2 separate regions of the Homo sapiens genome follow, and region 1 is linked to region 2. The links are contacts of gene promoters, found by promoter capture Hi-C in human tissues and cell types (Jung and others, 2019). All regions are on one chromosome and are shown on one strand. Each heading gives the region's core, a stretch centred on a gene start or on the middle of the fragment in contact. The rest is flanking DNA. Distances are from core to core; before and after follow the strand shown.

The links. Contacts are between HindIII fragments. The study calls those that stand out against the background at their distance.
Region 1: a contact is called between the fragment with the promoter of SPRYD3 here and a fragment that was not itself captured in region 2, in 4 of the 25 tissues and cell types used here (IMR-90 fibroblasts, adrenal gland, dorsolateral prefrontal cortex and 1 more).

What each region holds. Positions count from the first base shown.
Region 1 is chr12:53,077,194-53,081,180 of GRCh38, reverse strand. SPRYD3 (SPRY domain containing 3) reads left to right here and starts at 1,791. Exons shown (of 11, transcript NM_032840.3): 1 at 1,791-1,870; 2 at 3,920-3,987. The coding sequence starts at 1,848. RefSeq lists a silencer at 1,811-2,090. The HindIII fragment of the contact is 7,407 bases long and covers 1-3,987 here.
Region 2 is chr12:53,187,262-53,191,559 of GRCh38, reverse strand. ZNF740 (zinc finger protein 740) reads right to left here. Exons shown (of 7, transcript NM_001004304.4): 7 at 1-4,059. The coding sequence ends at 3,970. ITGB7 (integrin subunit beta 7) reads left to right here. Exons shown (of 16, transcript NM_000889.3): 16 at 1-237. The coding sequence ends at 4. Among named protein-coding and RNA genes, the nearest start is that of CSAD, 8.5 kb to the right of the region's middle. RefSeq lists a silencer at 1,181-1,475. The HindIII fragment of the contact is 6,057 bases long and covers 1-4,298 here.

The DNA.
Region 1 (3,987 bases), core at 542-3,041, 110 kb after region 2:
TGAGCCCCACATCTGGAACTTAAAGGTGAGGAAATCCCGAGTGGAATCACCAACCATCAGTAACAGTTTGGAAATGCCTTCTTCTGCCATTTCTCTCCATGTCTGACCCTAGCCACCTAGCTAGTTAGTTTCTGGAATGAGCCCTGGTCTGGGATGAACATGACTCTGGCAGCCTCCTAAGATTGTCCCTCTCTGGCTGCCTTTGGGAAGAGCTGAGCTCAGTGTTGAGGTATTTTCATAACACAAGAAGAGGAGCGGAGGAGAAGCAATGAGGGAATCAAAAGGAGGTGGAGATGAGTTGGAAGGGTAGCTATTCAGAACTGAGTCATCCAGGGGCTGGAAGGGAGCTAAAAGAACACATACTTCAATAATTCTTGTTTAGGGATGAGAACACCAAGACCTTGACCTTTTAGTCACACAGAATTGGGGCTCTAATCCGGGTTTCTCTGTTTCCCATCTCATCTATTCCTATCACCCATTGCCGTTATGCCGAGTGGGCACTATTCACGGTATGCGAGCTGATGGCTTTCCTGGCACTCAACACGTTAGAGTACCTAGTGTGATAAGAATAGAATAGTCTGGGGTCTGAAGGAGCTCACAGTCTAGCAGAGACGGGTCTACACACACAAGTAACTCCAATAACGAAAGCAAGACGGTAATAAGTGTTATAAATGGCGGGGGGCGGTGGCTCACGCCTGTAATCCCAACACTTTGGGAGGCCGAGGTGGGCGGATCAAGAGGTCAGGAGATCGAGACCATCCTGGCTAACACGGTGAAACCCCGTCTCTACCAAAAATACAAAAAAAATTAGCTTGGCGTGGTGGCGGGCGCCTGTAGTCCCAGCTACTTGGGAGGCTGAGGCAGGAGAATGGCGTGAACCCAGGAGGCAGAGCTTGCAGTGAGCCGAGATCGCGCCACTGCACTCCAGCCTGGGCGACAGAGTGAGACTCCGTCTCAAAAAAAAAAGTATTATAAATGAGGTGCTACAGAGGAGAGGAATCTTTTCCGTCCAGAAGAGAGAGATATGGTGATGGGAAGGGAGCAAGGAAGTCCTCATCTAGGAGTCCAACCCCCCAGAATGGCAGGTAGGCACTCCCTAGTAGGTGTTCAATAAATATTCGTGTCTTCGTCCCTTCACATTCTAACCCCAGTCTAACTTTCCTTCAGCCTACCAAAGCCCTGTGTTCCTCCACAGAATGCCGCTTCGTGCCACTGTGCCTTCTGCATCCCCAGTTCTCTCCTCCTGGAATGGAATGTTCTTGCCAATAATGAGCGAGCGGTGCCATGAAACAGAGCTCGGGAGGGTACACAGCATAACAGTTAAGCGCGCAGGCTATCGAGGCCAGCCTTCGGCCCATCCGTAAAAAGGAGATAAGATTTATTTCATAAGGCTGCACCGTGGATTAAATGGACATTCCGGTAAAGCTTTTATTTCAGTCCAGCGCGGAAGGAGGGCTCAAGTAATACTCGCAACGTTTGTGCGAGCGTGGCCACCTTCTCCGCCCGTCCCGTCTCCCCGGCGCCGCTCAAGAGCCGCCCCCTGTCCGCCTCAGCGGCGCCCAGGCACCCAGCAGCGTCCGCGCTGCCACGTCGCCTTCGCTCACCCCAGCAACAGCCGGGTTGACCAGACCGGGGCCCTGAGCTGGGTACCCAGGGCACCGGGCCGCGCCCCACACCCTGCCTGCGCCTTCCGATTGGCTCCTGCAGGTGCCCGTCGTCAGAGGCCGTTGCTGATTGGCTTAGATGGGGGACGGGGCGGGCCTCTAGGAGTGAAGGAAAGGCGGGGACCCGGATGTGTGTGGTGGCGGCGGCCGAAGAGCTTGTGTGCGGAGCTGAGAGGCCTATGGATGAGGAGGACGCGGCGGCCCCGGTAGGCGGGGATCGGGGGCGGGGTCCCGGAGGCCTCGTATCTCCCCGGAGCCTGAAGCGGAAGGCGGGGGTCCTGGGCGGGGGCTCTGGGGCCAGGGGCGGGGCCCTGCGCTCTGGTCACTGGGCTTCTTCTGTTGCTGCACCCTCGGCCCAGTGCAGGGCCTGGGGAGACTGGGCGTAGGCACACGGATGGGCTGGGGCCCGGCTGCTCCCGGGTCTCATCTCAGTGATCAGGCCGTGCCCGGGGAGGAGACAGGGCCCAGTAGGGCCGCCACTCGCCGGTGCCAAGACTGTGGGGTCTGCGCAACCAGCATCTACCTGGGGTTGAGTCCTGGCTGAGTGCCCGGGAGTGGAATCTTAGGGCTGTCTGTCCCACAGGTGCCTACTCTTCTGGGCCACGTGGTGGGTTGTAGCTACTGCATAAGAGTCGTAATTTGCGTATTGGGATCAAATTCAGCCCAGCCAAGGCTTACTAAGCACCTACCGTGTGCAAGGCAATGTCAGGCCTCAAGAAAACCCCTGTCCCAGTGTTTAGGGAATGGGAAGAGAAGAGTACTTCACCTCTTTCTCACTTTTGGCTCCCAGGAAAAATCATTCATTCATTTATATGTAGGGACTGATGGTTGTTTAAATACCTGGATCATCCCACCCCCATCCATCGGCGCTGCTACCGACTTAGTGGATGTCATTTCTCATGTGAACTGCTGCAACAACGTCTGAATTGTTTGCCCACATCTGTTCTTGATCCTCTTGTGATCAGTTCTCCAACCAGCAGCTGGAATGATCTTTAGGAACTGATTAAGATCGTGGCTTTTTTTTTTTTTTTTGAGATGGAGTTTCTGTCACCCAGGCTGGAGTGCAGTGGGACGATCTCGGCTCACTGCAAACTCCACCTCCCAGGTTCAAGCAATTCTCTTGCCTCAGCCTCCTGAGTAGCTGGGATTACAGGTGCGCACCACCACGCCTGGCTAATTTGTTTGTATTTTTAGTAGAGATGGGGTTTCACCATGTTGGTCAGGCTGGTCTTCAACTTCTGACCTTGTGATCCTCCCACTTCGGCCTCCCAAAGTGCTGGGATCACAGACGTGAGCCACCAGGCCCAGGATCATGGCATTTTTTTTTCTTTTTTTTTTGAGACAGGGTCTTGCTCTGTCAGCCAGGCTGGAATGTAGTGGCACAATCAGAACTGACTGCAGCCTTGACCTGCCAGACTCAAGCCATCTTCAGTCTCCTTAGTAGCTGGGACTACAGGTGCATGCTGCCACACCTGGCTCATTGTTTTAATTTTTAGTAGAGATGAGGTCTCACTACGTTGCCCAGGCTGGTCTGGGTCCTGGCCTCAAGCGATCCTCCTGCCTCAGCCTCCCAAGGTGCTGGGATTGCAGGCATGAGCCATCATACCCAGCCAATCATGGCATTTCCTTGCTTACAACCCTCCAGAAATTTCCATCTTGGAATAAAATCCAGAGTCCTTACCATTTCATTGTCTGTAGGGCCATGATCTGACTCCTGCCTTATTCTCATCTTGTACATTCTCCCTCACATTCCCTATATACCAGCTGTCCATGCCTTTTTCTGTTTCTCTACCATGCCAGCTCTCTTCCATCCAAGGACCTGTGGCTGCCCTTCCTGCCTGGAATATGCCTGGCTTGTCATGCCTAGCTCCTTTTCAACTCAAATGTCACCTCCTCAGAGAGACCGCCTCTGTCCACTCTATCCACTGCCTCCAGATTCTTTATCATATCACCCTGTTCTTTTCTCCACTGCCTGAAATTATGTCTGTTTATTGCCTGTCGTGTCCACCTCCCAGCCTGTGAGAATGGGAATCCTGTCCATCTTGTTCACAGCTCCATCCCTAGCACGGAGAAAAGCACACAGAGTAGGTGCTTGGTAAATGTTTGTTGAATGGAAGAAAGAAGATGAGGGTTGTTGAGGTCAATCTGGGCAGCTGGCCTCAAGGCCAGTGCCTTCTCTACCTTCTGGGTCACAGAGGCTGAGGTGCTTTACCTAGGGCCCTGCTTTCTCCTCAATCCCCTTCTCCCCTTGGCAGGTTTGTTCTCATGAACAAGATGGATGACCTCAACCTGCACTACCGGTTTCTGAATTGGCGCCGGCGGA
Region 2 (4,298 bases), core at 1,112-3,611:
CTGAAGGAGGGAGGGACACTTACCCAAGGCTCTTCTCCTTGGAGGACAGTGGGAACTGGAGGGTGAGAGGAAGGGTGGGTCTGTAAGACCTTGGTAGGGGACTAATTCACTGGCGAGGTGCGGCCACCACCCTACTTCATTTTCAGAGTGACACCCAAGAGGGCTGCTTCCCATGCCTGCAACCTTGCATCCATCTGGGCTACCCCACCCAAGTATACAATAAAGTCTTACCTCAGACCACAGCTGTCACTTTGCTTTACCTCATCAAGGCCAAAGCAGACTGTTTATAGCCTGGGCCTCGGGAAAGCTCTTGTCCATCCTCCTCTTGCCACCTGAGGGCAGGGAGAGGTGCCCAAGCGCGAATGTGCAGGAAACTCCCGGGGTGCACCCTGGGACCCAGGAAGCCAGGTCTGGAAAGGGCCTATGAATTCTCAAGTGCTGCGGATGCAGGGGGGTCCCAGGTCAGAGACACTGCATCTGTTGGTGTCTAGCCTCCTTCCGTCCTGCTGCGTGTGCTTTTTCGTCTTGCTCAGAACTGATGCCCTGTTTTTGCTCCTACTTGCTTGTTCCTCTGTGGAGAAGGGGTTTTAAAATGGCTTATAGGGTGCTGGAAGTTGTGGGGTGATTATGTAGGGAGAAAAAAGGAAAACAACTAAAACCAGTATGAAAAAGCTTCCCCAAAGAGGAGATAGTATGTAGAAAAGCCCCATTTTCCTTTTATTTAAATATCCTAAATATATCACGAAGGAACATACACTGCACTTTAATGGTAAAAAGATACAAGTTTATAACATCTTATAAAAACTACCATTTAAAAGTGATCTTGTCCATTTGATATTCCCCTCCCCCATAGCAAAATATTATTTAAAAAAAAAAAAAACAAAAAACAGGGTGGAGAGGAGGATAGGAAGGGGACAGTTGATAAAACCCCAGGGCCACAGCAGAGGCAAAGGGCATCTGGGGAGAGGGTTCGAAGCTGTGGCGGACTCCACTAATGTAACCCTCCAATGTCAAGCCATGGGCGTGATCAGTAGCTAAGTGATGACAAGGCTGTTGGGGGTGGACGGAAAAGACTTGGGGCAAAGCAGACTGTTTATAGCCTGAGCTGGTAGGGCCTGGTGCAGCAGCCTACCCGGAACTGGCACTACTCTTTCCCAGGTTCCCTGACTCTCTATCCTGGTCTCTGAGAGCGTGCCCTACTTCCGTTTCCCCCACTCCAAACACACCTGAGGCATCTTCCAGTGCTAGGCCCCATGCTGGCCAGCAGGGGTCGGGCATTGGGCCCAGGAGCCTCTGCAGCGGTGTGAGTCAGTGGCTTCCCTGGGGTATCCGTGGGGCTCCCGGGCCCTCTGGATGCCAAATCACTCCTTTCACTGCTTTGCGCCTCTCTTCTCACACATGCACTGCCCCAGACATCAGCGCGGGAACTGAACCAACCACCTGCTCCTGAGTTTCCCTCACTGGGTCCTTGGCAGGGGTGGCTCTGCTATGGCTGTTCGCACATACTCTCTGAAGTTCCCTCCCTCCCACCCACCCAGGCAGGAAACCAAGGTCTGTGGGAACCCAGGGCACCTTCTGACCCAGTACACACATTAGTACACATAGGGGCACAGGTCACTCATGTGAGACTTACATGAATCTCTCCACATACACCCCTATCCCAAAGAGACTAGCTGTAAGTGGCAGGGACAGAGGGCTCTCATTTTCAAAAGCATTTTTGGGAGGATAGTTTTCTAAATATTTTAAAATGGTTTACAGGGTACTGGAAGATGTGGGGTGAATCATCCCAGAAGTGAAGGACAGGAAAAGCCCAGATCCAGCAGAACCCTTGAACAGGAAGGGGGCTGGCTCACATGCAGAAAGATGCCCCTGCTTGCAGGGACCACAGGGCTGATCCAAGGACTGAGGTCTAAGTTCTGGACCACATCAAATGGGAGTGTCAGCATAGAGCTGTAAGAGTACATGGCAGCAAACACTCCTCAGCGTCTCCCCAAAAGGATCTCAGATGCTGTCAGGGAAAATCGAATGGGTGCCATGCCTGCTTTCTTTTTCCCTGAAATACTCATACCACAGAGGTATGGACAACCCCCTCCCCAACCCCACCCCTCCAGAATAGGTAACAGCCAGGAATCATTGCTGGTATCCATTCTTTACATTTTCTGGGAAATGAAATCATACTTTCAGGAGTTTCCCATCTCAGACCCTACTGACAGCTTGGCACTCAGGTTCAGCCAGTCTCCATGATTACTAAGACAGTTCCCGTACCCGCCACAGGTCAGGTCAGGTTACAGTGGGGGTCAACCAAACCCCAAAACTTCCCATAAGGATTCTTTCTTTAGCAGAAAGAAAAGGTTTATTTCACCTTAGAAAATTCATGTTCACAAGCCCTGGCTTGGGTTAGAAACATCCTAACCACCAGGCTGTTGAATTCATCTTAAAAAAAAAAACCCTCCAAAACAAAAGCCCTTCTGTTCCCCAAATTGTGTTCTTCAGCTCCTGCTGAGACCTCAAGCACCCTTCATGTTTGGGCAAGAGGAGGCTATTTTCCACTCATCCTCCCTGAAGGTGAGGGCCAGAGAAGGGTTTGGCTCAATAATATGCCATCTCCTGCAAGCATACAAATACATGCATTCATATCTCACACACACTCTCTCTCACACACACACACACACCCGATTACTTTTTTGGGAGTGGACAAGGTGGTGGTATTGGAGCAGAGAGGAGCAAAGAATATGGTTAAGAATGGAACCTACATTAGGTTTCTTCTTTAGTCTTTTCTCTGCAGCACCCCCACCCCCATCCCCCACACTCTGTTGGGTAGGGATGGCCATCAGGAAGCAAGCCGAGATCTTGTTTTTTGGGACCAAAGGACAGACCCCTCCCTACCTCCTCTACCTGAATACAGTGATAGGACTTGGGGAGGGAGAACAGCTCCTACTGCTCAACAGGCATGTCAGAAGACCCCAGATTCCTTTGTTTCTTGAGCAGCTGTTAGCCAACTTGGGACCAGTCTTGGGTTGTTCCTAAGAGGGCACAAGGAGAGAGAACCCACTTTGACTTCCATGACTCCTTGCTCAACACATCTGTCTCACTTTAGGAGTCAATGGCAGCGAGGTAGCCACATACCATCTCCAAGACCGACTCCCCAAAAAAAGAAGAAAAGGGCTTCATGGGCCACTCTCACCCAAGTTTCCTCCTAAAGGCATTTGAGCTGATGCCATCAGGTGCCAATGTGACATGGGCCATGACAACACCCACTGGCACAACTCTTCCTTTTCCCTTGAGGAAGGAAGAGGTGCCATCCACTTTTTGGATCCAGCCCTTGTCTGCTCCACCCCGTTTTTCCTTTTGTCCCTACAGTGTATAAGGAAGCCAAAGTAAGCTCAGCTGCCATTCCTGACCTTATTCTTCCTCAAAAAGGAGGCGAAGTGCAGGATTGTGAAACACTGAGGAGCTACTGCAACTAAAAACCCAATTTTTGGGGAGAGCTGGACCAGCTATAGTCCCTACTTTGGACCAGGACTCTTATGCCTCTGGATTACCTGTATCCACAGTTTACCCGCTGAAGTTGCTTTTGGATAAACAAAAACAAGAACAGAACAAACAAATCCCCTTCCCCAATCTTTTCCATTTCAGCTGCCAGCTGGAGTCCAAGGTTGTGGGAGCCACACTTCAGTCTTGGTCCTGTACCTTGAGTCCCCACCTATGACCTCAGCCAAGGGTCCAGGGACTAGCTCCCCTACCCAGGAATGCTGTAAGAACTTCCCCGAGATACTCATAGTCTCAGATTATTTACAGAGCTGAGGTTCTGGGGCCACTGTCCCCTGATGCACTCTTCTGGTCTCCTGGGTCCACTCCTCCAGGAGTGGGACAGGTTCACATGGGGCGGTGGTGGGACCATCAGACCAGAGGGGGTGTGCTCTTCGGCAGGTTCTTCTGATCACTCCCACCACCCGGGGCCCCTTGCGCCTATAGAGAAAACTGCCCGTCGGAAGTCTTGGACTGGCACCCTTGGCACATCCGTTTGTGTCTGAGTAATCGATCTGTCCGAGAAAAACACTGAGAAGAAAGGGAGGGTTAAGTGCCTGAGCAGACAAACGCAGCTACCTGTTGGCTAACTCATTCCTCTCACAGGAGGCAGATACCACATTCTCCATCCCCTCAGCACGTGCACAGACAGCAGGAGCACACGGTGGTGGAGAATCCAAGCTCTCAGGCCAGACCGCCTGGGGCTGAATCTTGGCTCTATCACTCAGCAGCTGTGTGACCTTGGGCAAGTTACCTAACAGCCCAGAATC